Linked DNA regions of Homo sapiens: regions 1, 2 and 3 are each linked to region 4. The links are contacts of gene promoters, found by promoter capture Hi-C in blood cells and fetal thymus (Javierre and others, 2016). All regions are on one chromosome and are shown on one strand. Each heading gives the region's core, a stretch centred on a gene start or on the middle of the fragment in contact. The rest is flanking DNA. Distances are from core to core; before and after follow the strand shown. Region 1 has its middle 5.9 kb from the start of PYDC2-AS1. Region 2 overlaps CCDC50 (coiled-coil domain containing 50). Region 3 overlaps CCDC50 (coiled-coil domain containing 50). Region 4 holds the start of OSTN (osteocrin).

Evidence for each region. Contacts are between HindIII fragments. The CHiCAGO score rates a contact against its expected background, and 5 or more counts as called.
Region 1: a fragment that was not itself captured here is called in contact with the fragment with the promoter of OSTN in region 4 in 1 of 17 cell types (naive B cells); the score reaches 5.2 in naive B cells.
Region 2: a contact is called between a fragment that was not itself captured here and the fragment with the promoter of OSTN in region 4, in 2 of 17 cell types (total B cells and naive B cells). The highest score is 6.5, in total B cells.
Region 3: a contact is called between a fragment that was not itself captured here and the fragment with the promoter of OSTN in region 4, in 1 of 17 cell types (naive B cells). The highest score is 5.1, in naive B cells.

Annotation. Positions count from the first base shown.
Region 1 is chr3:191,418,122-191,421,156 of GRCh38, reverse strand. No RefSeq gene overlaps it. Among named protein-coding and RNA genes, the nearest start is that of PYDC2-AS1, 5.9 kb to the left of the region's middle. The HindIII fragment of the contact is 1,536 bases long and covers 827-2,362 here.
Region 2 is chr3:191,381,176-191,384,065 of GRCh38, reverse strand. It overlaps CCDC50 (coiled-coil domain containing 50), which reads right to left. Exons shown (of 12, transcript NM_178335.3): 10 at 1,241-1,320. Among named protein-coding and RNA genes, the nearest start is that of PYDC2-AS1, 43 kb to the left of the region's middle. The HindIII fragment of the contact is 3,482 bases long and covers 1-2,890 here.
Region 3 is chr3:191,397,501-191,400,522 of GRCh38, reverse strand. CCDC50 (coiled-coil domain containing 50) reads right to left here. Exons shown (of 12, transcript NM_178335.3): 12 at 1,864-3,022. Among named protein-coding and RNA genes, the nearest start is that of PYDC2-AS1, 27 kb to the left of the region's middle. The HindIII fragment of the contact is 5,466 bases long and covers 1-3,022 here.
Region 4 is chr3:191,197,596-191,200,504 of GRCh38, reverse strand. It overlaps OSTN (osteocrin), which reads right to left and starts at 1,264. Exons shown (of 5, transcript NM_198184.2): 1 at 1,198-1,264. The HindIII fragment of the contact is 2,884 bases long and covers 1-2,512 here.

The DNA.
Region 1 (3,035 bases), core at 345-2,844, 220 kb before region 4:
AATCTGTCTAAAGCTCTTAAACCACATGGTGCATGGACTGAAAACATTTAAAATTTATTATCTTGAAAGGATTCTCATTTTGTCCTAGCAGCATTGCCAAATCCTATGCCTATAAATTTACACAAATTCCTGATTACCCAAGGATTAACTTGGAGATCAGCATCATGAAATTGTTGCCCTTCCCCGATCTGTTTTCTTTGATATTAATACAAGCTTCCATGATAATTCCTCTTTTCATGTCCTGGGACTCACTGCCCATAAAAATGATACTTCCAACAGCGTAGGATTATGGGTCTTTGTGTTCTCAACCATAGTTGCCTCTCTTTGCACTCCACTTCAGTTATTTACTATATGGGCTCAAGACCTATACCATATCTAAAATATTTTCTTTCTGACTATAACAATTCATCCTTTACACTAATCCCCTTATTTCATGACCCGTGAACTCTGATCTTGTGGTGATCTGATGGAAAACTTTTCCCTACTCTCCAAGAATGTTACTTCTTGCCCCCCTGGCCTCACCCAAAGATCTCATAGTGCTTTACCTTAACCTCTTTCTCTCCTCTGGCTCTAGGCCTCCCTGTTACACATGCCCATCTGAACCCCAACAATGCATCACTCTCAACCATTCACCTCTTCTGCTTCTACATATGGGTTGCCGATGTGGCTGCTGAAACCAAGCAACCATGAAGATTGATGCCACAATAAATGAGCACAGTCCAATCACAGCTGTTTTCTCAATCTACAGTGCTCAGCAATTCCTAGTCAGTCCCCTCTATCATTTAGCTCAGCTCTTCTTCTAAACTGTCACCATTCTCCACAAGCTTCTAAATCTCACTGTTCTATTGTAGAACATAACTTGTCGTCATATTTCACGTTCCTCAAACTTCCTTGCCTCCTCGTTCTCAACACAGGAAATTCCCTTCTACTACACAGAAGGAAAAAAAGAAATCAAAAATAGAAATTCCATTCACTTTCTACTAGCACATCCTATGTGCATCTGCATTCTCTTTTCCCTCATCTTCATATTATATATGACCTATGTATACTCTAATATGATGCACAGGCATACCACTGAGAGATTGCAGATTGAGTTCCAGACCACTGCAATAAAACAAATATCACAAATATTCCGGTTTCCCAGTGCACATAAAAGTTGTGTTTACACTCTAACATAGTTTAAGTGTGCAATAGCATTATACCTTAATTTAAAAATATTTTATTGCTAAAAACTGCTAAAGATCCTTCAGACCATTGCAAACTTTTTGCAGATGGATGGTCTTGCCTTGATGTTGATGGCTGCTGACAGATCAGGGTGGTGGTTGCTAAAAGGTTGGGGTGGCTGTGGCAATTTCTTAAAATTAGACAACAATGAAATTTGCTGCATCAACTGACTTATTTTCATGAAAGATTTCTCTGTAGCATGGGATGTTATTTGATAGAGTTTCATCCACAATATAACTTTAAAAATTGGAGTCAGTGCTCTCAAACCATGCTGTTGCTTTACCTGCTAAGTTTATATAATGTTTTAAATATTTTGTTTTCATTTTAACAATGTTCACAGCATCTTCACCAGGAGTAGATTCCATCTTAAGAAACCACTTTCTTTGCTCATCCAGAAGAAGCAACTTCTTATCCACTCAAGTTTGATCATCAGATTGCAACAATTAAGTCACGTATTCAGGCACCATCCCAATTATTGTTATCTTGCTATTTCAATCACATTTGCATTTATTTTCTCCACAGGAGTCTTGAACCTCTCCAAGTCATTCATGAGGATTAGAATCAACTTCTTCTGAATTCCTGTTAATGTTGATATTTTAACCTCTTCCCATGAATCATGAATGCTTTTAATGGCATCGCAAATGTTGAATCCCTTCCAGAAGTTTTTCAATTTACTTTGCCCAGATCCAACAGAGGAATGACAATCTATGGCAGCTATGGCCTCACAATGTGAAATTTTTAAATAATCAGACTTGAAAGTTCAAATTATTCCTTGGTCTACGGGCTGTAGAATGGATGTTATGTTAGCAGGCATGAAAACAACATTAATATCCTTGTATATCTCTATCAAAGCTCTAGGGTGACTAGGTGCATCATCAATGAGCAATAATATTTTAAAAGGAATTTTTTTTTCTGAGCAGTTGGTCTCAACAGTGGGCTTAAAATATTCAGCAAACCATGCTGTAAGTAGATGTGCTGTCATCCACGTTACATTTTTCCATTCATAGAGCACAGATAGAGTAAATTAAGCAGAAGTCTTAAGGATTCTCAGACTTTTGGAAGGGTGAGCACTGACTTCAACTGAAAATCACCAGCTGCATTAGCTTCTAAAAAGAGAGTCAGCCTGTCCTTTGAAGCTTTAAGCCAGGCATTAACTTCACTCTAGCTTTGACAGCCCTAGATGACATCTTCTTCCAATACAAGGCTGATTCATCCACATTGAAAACCTGTTGTTTGGTATAGCCACCTTCATCGATCATCTTTGCTAGATCTTCTGGACAATTTGCTACAGCTTCTACATCAGCACTTGCTGCTTCATCTTGTGCTTTTATGGAGGTGGCTTCTTTCCTCAAACTTCATGAACCAACCTCTGCTAGCTTCAAACTTTCCTTCTGCAGCTTTCTCACCTCTCTCATAGTTCAAAGAATTGAAGAGCATTAGGGCCTTCTTCTAGAGTAGGCTTGGCTAAAGGAGACTTGTGGCTGGTTTCATCTTCTATCCAGAGAACTGAAACTTTCTCCATATAAGCAATAAGGCTCTTTCACTTTATCACTCGTGTATTCACTGGAGTAGCACTTTTAATTTCCTTCAAAACCTTTACATTCACAACTTGGCTGGTTGGTGCAAGAAGCCTAGCTTTCAGCCTGTCTCAACTTTTGACATATGTTCCTCACTGAACTTCAATCATTTCTAGCATTAGATTGAAAGTGTGAGGTGCACAACTCTACCTTTCACTTGGACACTTGGAGGCCACTGTAGGGTTATTAAATAGCCTCATTTCAATATTGTTGTATCTCAGGGAATACTGAGGC
Region 2 (2,890 bases), core at 213-2,712, 180 kb before region 4:
TCATCCAGTACTGTTCCATCATATATGCTGTCAATGGTATTAGTATTCTAAAGAGGCCAAGGATCTGAAGACTGCAGAATTAAGCCTAAAGATGATTTAAATTCATTTGACTAAAAAAAGGATAATAATCCAGATGTATTTACTTACTAAGAACAGATTAGCTGCTGCTTCTTTTACTTGGATACTTTGGGAATGTACTAACCTATAGAGTTCTAAGAAAATGTTTGGCATGTGCTTAACCAAAAGCTACAACAGAAAGATTTTATATAACTAGACAGAATATGCCACTATTCTTCTCAGAGCAATACAAACCCAATGTAATTTTCTGAAAGATTATCTTCTGAAAGCAAATGAGTTTTAAAATAGAGGATTACTTTTTAAGGACACTAAATACATTCACTTGAAGGAAACAAGTCTAGGAGCTTCAGTGTGGGCATGAGTAGCAACAACAGTGTCAATTATTCAATGAAATAAGCGTTATGTTTCAAGAATTAACAAATAAGAATAAAATTCAAATTTGAATAATTCAGAGTTTTCAAAATTTTAAACTTAGTGTTACTTTTTTGTCTTGTTTTTAGTATCTTTTTCTTCACATTCCAATCATGTTTTCTTTCGAAAGGCAACAAAAAGCAATTAAAAAAAAAAAGAGGTTACTTCCCCAGAGACTTAAATGTTGACAACTTGAGGCAGAAAGACAGCAGCTGCTCCATAACTATTATGCACGACTGTTTGAGATAAATCAGAAAGTATGTACACCATAGCCACAGCTATTTGTTGAGTGGGATTTAGACAGTCTGCAAGGATTCAAGATTTTGTCAAGGACACTGAGACTCAGAAAGAAATGAGTTTGAGCATGTGCAAATGGCATGCACACATCAGTGTGGCTATGAAACCCGGTAAATATTTAAAACTCGAAATTTTATTTAGGAAAAAAAATCACTCTCATTCCCCAAGCTGAAAGCATAAATTCAGTGAATGCAGAGGTAAGAATCAGTCCTAACAAAAAGTACATTCTTCCTTATCCACCCCAACTATTGTAAAATTCTGATTTGATGTACACAACTCAATTTAAGAGTGGAAATAAAGTTCTAAAAATAACCCTGAATGTCTTGACACTACCTTACAAATGCAGATTTTTGGATCTCCTCTCCAAAAAACATACACTCTTCTTAGGGAACTGAAATCTCCTTATTCACCCCAAAGTCAACTTCCTCATTTTTCTTTTCAGGTGTCAGCTTACCGTGCTGGCCTTTCATTCTTAGAATGGTGAGGTTCATCACTCTCTTTTGACTTGGAATTTGCTGCTTTAGCTGTTTTTGGCTATGGACAAAAATACAAACAAACAAACAAAAATAACACACACATACAATCCAGAATCATCAAACAAAGGGAAAGATTAAGTTTAACGTATGTTTATCATGCCAAGCTCTTCCTTAGTAATTTCAGATTAATTATATTTAATTGAGGAACATAAAATATTTTTATATATGGCCACTCCAGAGGTAGAAAATTTATAGCTGCAAAGGTAGGCTTTGGGCTTACATGGAAGGTGTAATTTAGCCCACTCATCTGAAAGCCTTAGAGCAGCCAGAGGAATGGGCTGAACACACAGGAACATGCTTCCCTAGATGGGTGTGCTTGGCCACTGATTATTAACATAATAGCTACACAGTAATTGCCAAGAACCAGTGCACGCCCAGAGTCTACGGAATCCAGGTTTGTGCACTCAAACTTATTTCCGCACACATGTCTTAGGCTGATTTCCAGCCAGTAAACTAAGGCACATTCAAGTCAACTTTTCCAAGAGAGGAACTGTATCAGTACCAGTTATAAAATAAAAATTACAGAAGTCATGATGATACCTGCTAGAGATGTGGCCATTGCCTTCTGACACGCTTGATTCCTAATCCTTAAATACTTACCCTTTCCTAGTTAAGGTAGCAAAGAATCTGAGAAACTCCTGGGTAATTATTTGTGGCTTAATTTATTTAACAAAAGTATTTGGGAATCCTTGACTAAAACAGTATATTAGAAAAAATCTTGAATTACTGAGTTAGTTAAGAGAGAGCTAAATATACATAATTAATATGAGAATAATACATTCATTGTTTTGAGACTAACTCGTGGGTAACTGAGCAACAGGAAAGAGTACAGCAATACTATTAGCAGGGTTTCTACACCTTTTTCCTCACAACCATTACTGAGACTGTGAGGTGGGACCAGAAACCCAATGGAGGAATTTGTTCAAGAGAGACCAGCGCTAAACACCAACTGTGTAAGGAATACACAACCTAGGTTTCATTCTTCTGGGCCTAAACTCCCTCCCTAAAAACCCTGTATTGTACGAATTCTCTCCCTATTCCTCTGCTCTTTTTCCACCTAGCTTAACCTTCTATTTGTTAGCTGTCTACACTTTGTCTTCCTCTCTACATTATACACTACTATCAGGAAAAATGTCTTTGTCTTTCCATGGAGGTCCAAAGTGTTGTCTTACGCGCTGTCACTGATGAATAAAGTCTGCTAAGCTGGAACTCACAATTACCGCAGCAAAATGAATTGCAGTAACTGCTTATTTTGTCTACAATTTCTGATCAACGAGGGGAAAGATAACCGTCCAAACTCACGCTAGATAGGTCTTGCACTGTGACATAAATAATAATTGTTGGTGATAAGTATGTATCTTTCAGTCTGCCACAAACCATGTTACATCAAAGGAAAGAGAAACGGATACATGATAGAGATGAAAGATAATGTAAGCACAAAGAAAGTAGAGACGGGAAGAGAAGTTCATTGTGGAAAATATGAAAGCATGTGAAAATGCTATATTCTTCTATAATCAAAGTACTGTATATGAAAACTAAGACTGTTCATGACCAGAAGCACTTGCATT
Region 3 (3,022 bases), core at 199-2,698, 200 kb before region 4:
GGCAAAGATCAGGTAATGACACAAAATACTTTAAAGTGGCAGGCATACTTAAGGGTATGTTATGATCTACATGATCAAAACCAAATTTGCATCATTAGGCTGAGGAATCGATAAGAAAAGTGGGTGTGTCCTGGAAGTATGGTATGCAAGACATACTAGTGGAGTTAATTTACAAGAACATCCGAAGACCATTTGAGGAAAGAGGCTCAAATTTCAGCCTTGGGAATAAAACATAGAGATGGGTATTGGTTAGAAAAACACATAACAAGTTAATGACAATCTACTGGATGTGGAGACAGAAGTAGCAAAATACTGCAGTAAAGAACAAAAGATCATGGTTGTCTTTCATGATGGAATGCCTAGGAAGTCTTTGTGATTTTACAGGACCCAGCAGTGAATAAAGCTGCTCTCTTCCTGGCAACATCTTAAAAGAAACCAGCAGCCGTTGACCGCAGGAATCCTCAAATGTTATACTTGAAGTAGTGCTTCAGGCAAGTGAACTGAGGTACAGCAGGATAAATGATGTCCCAAGGTCCTGAAACAAGCTCATAGCAAAACCTGGACTAGGACCCCGTATCTCATTCCTGTAGATTTCTTTAGTACACTGATTTCGCAGCAGCCTTTAGTTTATGTTCGTTCATTTAAGCATGATACCCAAACACAATGGAGGAGGGGCATTGGTCTTCCTGCCCTTGAAATGGGGGCAAAATTGTCTTGAAACCATGGTTCTAGGATTTGTAGTAGTCCAAAACCCTCTTAAAGGTTTCACCAAATTTCGAAGGTGTGCGAGGTAGATAGTGGTCTCTTAGCTGTTGTAAGAAGGAACTGGCCAGGCGCGGTGGCTCATGCCTGCAATCCCAGCACTTTGGGAGGCCGAGGCAGGCGGATCATGAGGTCAGGACATCGAGATCATCCTGGCTAACACGGTGAAAACCCATCTCTACTAAAAATACAAAAAAATTAGCCAGGCATGGTGGTGGGCACCTGTAGTCCCAGCTACTTGGGAGGCTGAGGCAGGAGAATGGCGTGAACCCGGGAGGCGGAGCTTGCAGTGAGCCGAGATCGCGCCACTGCACTCCAGCCTGGGCGACAGAGCAAGACTCTATCTCAAAAAAAAAAAAAAAAAAAAAAAAAGAAGGAACTTTCTTGTATGCTACCTTTTCACATGGCCACATGGCCATAGCCTGACAATCAGACTCAAGTCATATTCCCCATAAACCACCCTATCACCTTGAGTACCTCTTACCACAGATTAAAGGGATCTGTTTTACTTGCATATTTAATTTTTTAGTTGGCTTCTAGATGCATCAACTTTTTCCACTGGCAACTTTAGTATTTATTTAGAGACCAAAGGTTGAAATCAACATACTAATCTTCAACTAAATAAAACAGTATCACCTGCACATCACTGGTACTACTCAGGATCTAGCAGAGACTACAGAAATCATTTAGATTTCCTGCTATATTTGCCACAGAGGAATCTGAGGCCTAGAGAATCTACTGTAGGGGTGGCTAAATAGTGACATCTTTAAAAATAAATTTAGTAGTCATTGAAAATATTATATTTAAGATACCTAATTTTTGCAGAATCATTTCCTACATTGTGGCTATTCTATCAAACCAAATAAGAAAAAAAAAATTCTTATGAAGGTAAAATATTGAATAAATCAGTTATTAATATCCATTTCTCAAAATACATTGAAGTGTCCACAAGGTGTCAGGTATAGTGCAGAGTTGTGCATGGGGTCTTTAATCACTGGAATTATTGTGTGAACATCCACTTACCTGTTTTTTTTCCTCCCAAATATATCAATCAAACCACGAAACACCACACACAAAACAAAGCTACTTCTCCAACTGATCCACACTTGGCAGTATTTATTGAGGATTTCAATACACCAGGCATCATTATCATGTTATACATATTTACAGAAAGTGTATGGAAATGGAGTAAGAAAAAATTTCACTGTTACTAAACAGACCTATTAGGGTCATTTTGTAAATAATAATAATTATAATAAGACTCTCGTAAGTTTCCCTGTCCTTGAATGCTGTAAAGAAACAAAACAAAAACATGAGACAGAGACCACTGACTTAACAAATGGATGACTTTATTAAGAGAGAAGGACAAGACTGATGTTTACCTTGGTCAAACCATCCAGGAAAACAAAGCACACAGACTTATAGAATACTTTGGTTTAAAAATTATTCATAATATCAATATTAAACCTGATGTTTAAAGAACCTAATGAGAAATATAGTGTAAAAAACAAACCATGAAAACACAAGTTTGCATAGATGAATTAATGTAGATGTACAATTGGCATTTAAAAAAGGAGGTTTGCGTTTTGGGAGTGCCTTAACGATGTTGAACACCTCAACCTCCCAAGACACATGAAAGTCACCAGCACCACAATTCTCATTTTCCTCAATGAGGTCATGAGCAGGAACAACTTGTGCTGTACGGAGGTGAACTGAAAGAGACTGCTTCCATTGGCCTAGTCCAGATGAGTGTATATATTCCCATCAGAACCCACCACTGGTCATCTTTAAGGCATCCACAAAATGTCCCTCACAAATTCACTTAATCTCTAGATAGGCATGTGGTCTGAGGCAGCCTCTTTGTTTTCTGTCCTCACACAGGCAACTGCATTCCATCAAGGTTCTGTTCAATTCCACGAACTAGCTATTTCAAAGCTGCCTATTCTTCTGGGGCTTGGTTATAAATCCATGTGGATTTGGAATAACAATCCATTTGTTTTATAAATATATCCACATTCCAAATATCAAAGGGGCACTTCCTAAGGAATCTGAAAGTGCCCAGGCAATGCGTAGTCTCTCTCTCAAGAGATCACGTTTCTAAATTATGAGACAAATGATAGCATCACCTCAGGTTTCCTGGGCAACTTGATTTATATGAGCAAACTCTTGTACTTTTTAATTCAGCACCTTTTCAAAATATGTGCTGGGATGGATTCTTCTTAGGGAAAGCCCCATATAGAATTCTCATTTTGGAGCATCA
Region 4 (2,909 bases), core at 15-2,514:
AATCTAATTTTATTAATCAAATGTTCAAATCATTGAGAGTATTTGTAAAAGAAGTTAAAATTATAGCCCTGAGGTTCCCGTGCCCAGTCAACTGAAGATATCTGCTTCTCTACTGCTCATTATTCAGTATATAAGAATCAGTTAAAAATCCTGAGAAATAAGGGGGAGAAAGCAAATGTCAACCTTAAACACTCTGAATAATTTTTGAATGAAGCCATAGTAAAATTCACTGACATGAAGGAGACCTGAACTGTTATCTACAGAAAGTGCTCCTTAGAAAAGTTCTGTAAGCGTGCTGAAGAGTAGTACCAAAGTAAGAGAAAACACAGAATGTCCCTGGTGTTTTTGGTATAACACTATCAATTCTATAACTTATATAGGCATTAAAATTACCATAATTCATTCTCAAAAATGTTAAATTTTTAGAAGGAAAACTCATAAACAAATAATAATCACATTCCTAAACCTATAGAGTCTGTTATTCAAAGAAACAACATTTGAATTGTTAGAACTGAATTCACTGAGTGCACACTAAACCTGAAATAAAATTTTAAATTTCTTCTCCAACAGAGCTCAAATGTATGTTTCAGATTAACTCTCAATTCAATCATTGAATAGCAAGAGCACTACAAATACTGAAGAACAGGCATACTCTAAGTCTACTCCAACTATGTTATTAATATCATATTTGCATATTTGACATATAAGGAGAAAAACAGAAGATGCATTAGGTTTTAAGAACATAAGAGATAGAATTTCATTAGTTTAGGGATGTTTCTTAAGCTCCAGTTTTGATAGAAATAATGAGGAAAAAACCTTTCTTTTTTACCTAGGTTGTTTAGACCACTCTTTTATATTAAACATTTTTCTAATATTACACAATTTTGAGGAAAGCAAAATAACGCTAATAACATATATATGTATAGAATTATTATTTTGCATTCACTTTCTGTTTGTTTTGAAATGGAAGAGAAAAGCAATCTTATAAATATGAAATATCTGAATAAGCAATTAGTTCTACCTTAAGTTTGCATTACAAAAATATCTTTGATTTTCTACTCATTTTAGAGAGGGAAATATTACCACTCTAATTTTAACAAAATCAAGATATAATCAAAACATTTAAAGAGTCTGTGAAAGTAAAAATAATAGTTAAAAGAAGCATTAAATCTTTATCAATTTTTACATATAACTTACCTCGTGAAAGATCAGGAGATTCTAACTTTAGAGTACTGTCTCTGCAGTTTCTCCAAAACTCAGCCCTGGTGGTGAGTTTTCTCTCTGAGTTTTTATAGTCTCAGTTATACACCCCTTACTCCAATCCCTGCCTTTGCTTTCTCTTACATCATTTCTACAGATTTTCCACTGAACATTTTCCCAAGCCTCTCTTCGATCTCTTTCTCTCCCTCCCTCTCCCTTCCTTCTTCAGTTTCTCCCTCCCTCCTTTCCCTCCATATTTAGTCTATCTATTGCTTTGATCATGGCATTTAAATAACGATGGAAGTATAGGCTCTGGAAAATTTGAATATAGATTTAGTATTGTGTTCAGCTTCACACCCATCACCTCTTCCTGAGGTTTTAGTCAAGCTCTGATTATTACAAATCATATTTGGGAAATAAAATGCACTAAGATTTGTTAAAAAGTCACCAGGGAATTTCAATGTACGATATAGAGAGATTGTAATCAGACACAAACGGATTTATTGGTGTAATTTTTGGACCTTTAAATGATCAGCTATGGAAATAATGAGTACTTTCAGCCTCCGTCAGGTGCACAGTGCTGTGTCAGTGAAACACAATGACAGCTACTTCGTAATTAACATTGCTATACTGGGAAGGCTGTCACTAACAAACCTATAAATACTGAGCTGTGACATGTGAGCTATAAATGAAGACGTTGTAATCATTTTTGTCTTGCTCTTGTTCTTCAGTACTTTGATTTCTTTTTAACCAAAATATTTCTGCCTTTGGCTGAAGGTTTTCTTTCATTCTTATCTCCTACTAATTATATTTGCATCCTTACATACACAAATTATTTTTTAAATGAATTATTAAGTTATAAAGGTAACATGTTATGTTATTAGATCGTTAATGGCTCATTTGATTCACCAGAGGGTCCCCATCTGACAGGTAAAGAGGCCAAGGCTCAGATAAATTAAGTGACTTTATGAGATCACACACGTAAGAAGTAGTCGCAGAGCTGGATTTCAAATGCAGATCTTCCTAATTCCATATCCAGTTCTTTTCCCACGACTGCATTCTATCTCACTGCTTTAAAAGCTAGAAAAGAGAATCCAAACCAGATTATATTTTTGCACAAAAAGCAATAAATTTATTCTTTTTGGTTTCCCTAAAAAGGCCATTTAAAATACTAGTCACTAGTATAAGGACAATTACATGGTTAATTTGGATCTAGATGGGGAAACTGACCAGAGCACACAGAATTAGTGGGACAGTAAAATGCTTCATTTTTATGATGGGTTTCCAGGGATAACATATGTCTCAACAAGCTTGAAATTTGAGTAGTTGGCAGAGACAGTTCACAAATCAAGATAAAAATACAGCCTAATTGTGGACCCTTGTTTAGACATTACTGCCATAAAACAATTATGTTAGCTTGAATCCACATGATGGAAAACTCTCAATATAGAATTAATGGATGCATCATAATGCTACCAGAAGCCAATATTATTGGCATACCTTCTACCCTTATTTGAAATGCCGCTCTTAGCATGCCGACAAGTGATATCTGTGGCTGATTTATTCCAGATCTGTCCCTGCTTAGACAGTCCAAAGATTCCTCCCTATTTGTGGATTTTGTTGACCTAATTCAAAAGTTTGACTTAACTGTTCTGCAGCAGTTGAAATAGCAACAGTTTATTCCAGGAACATCCATGGTACATTTAAGC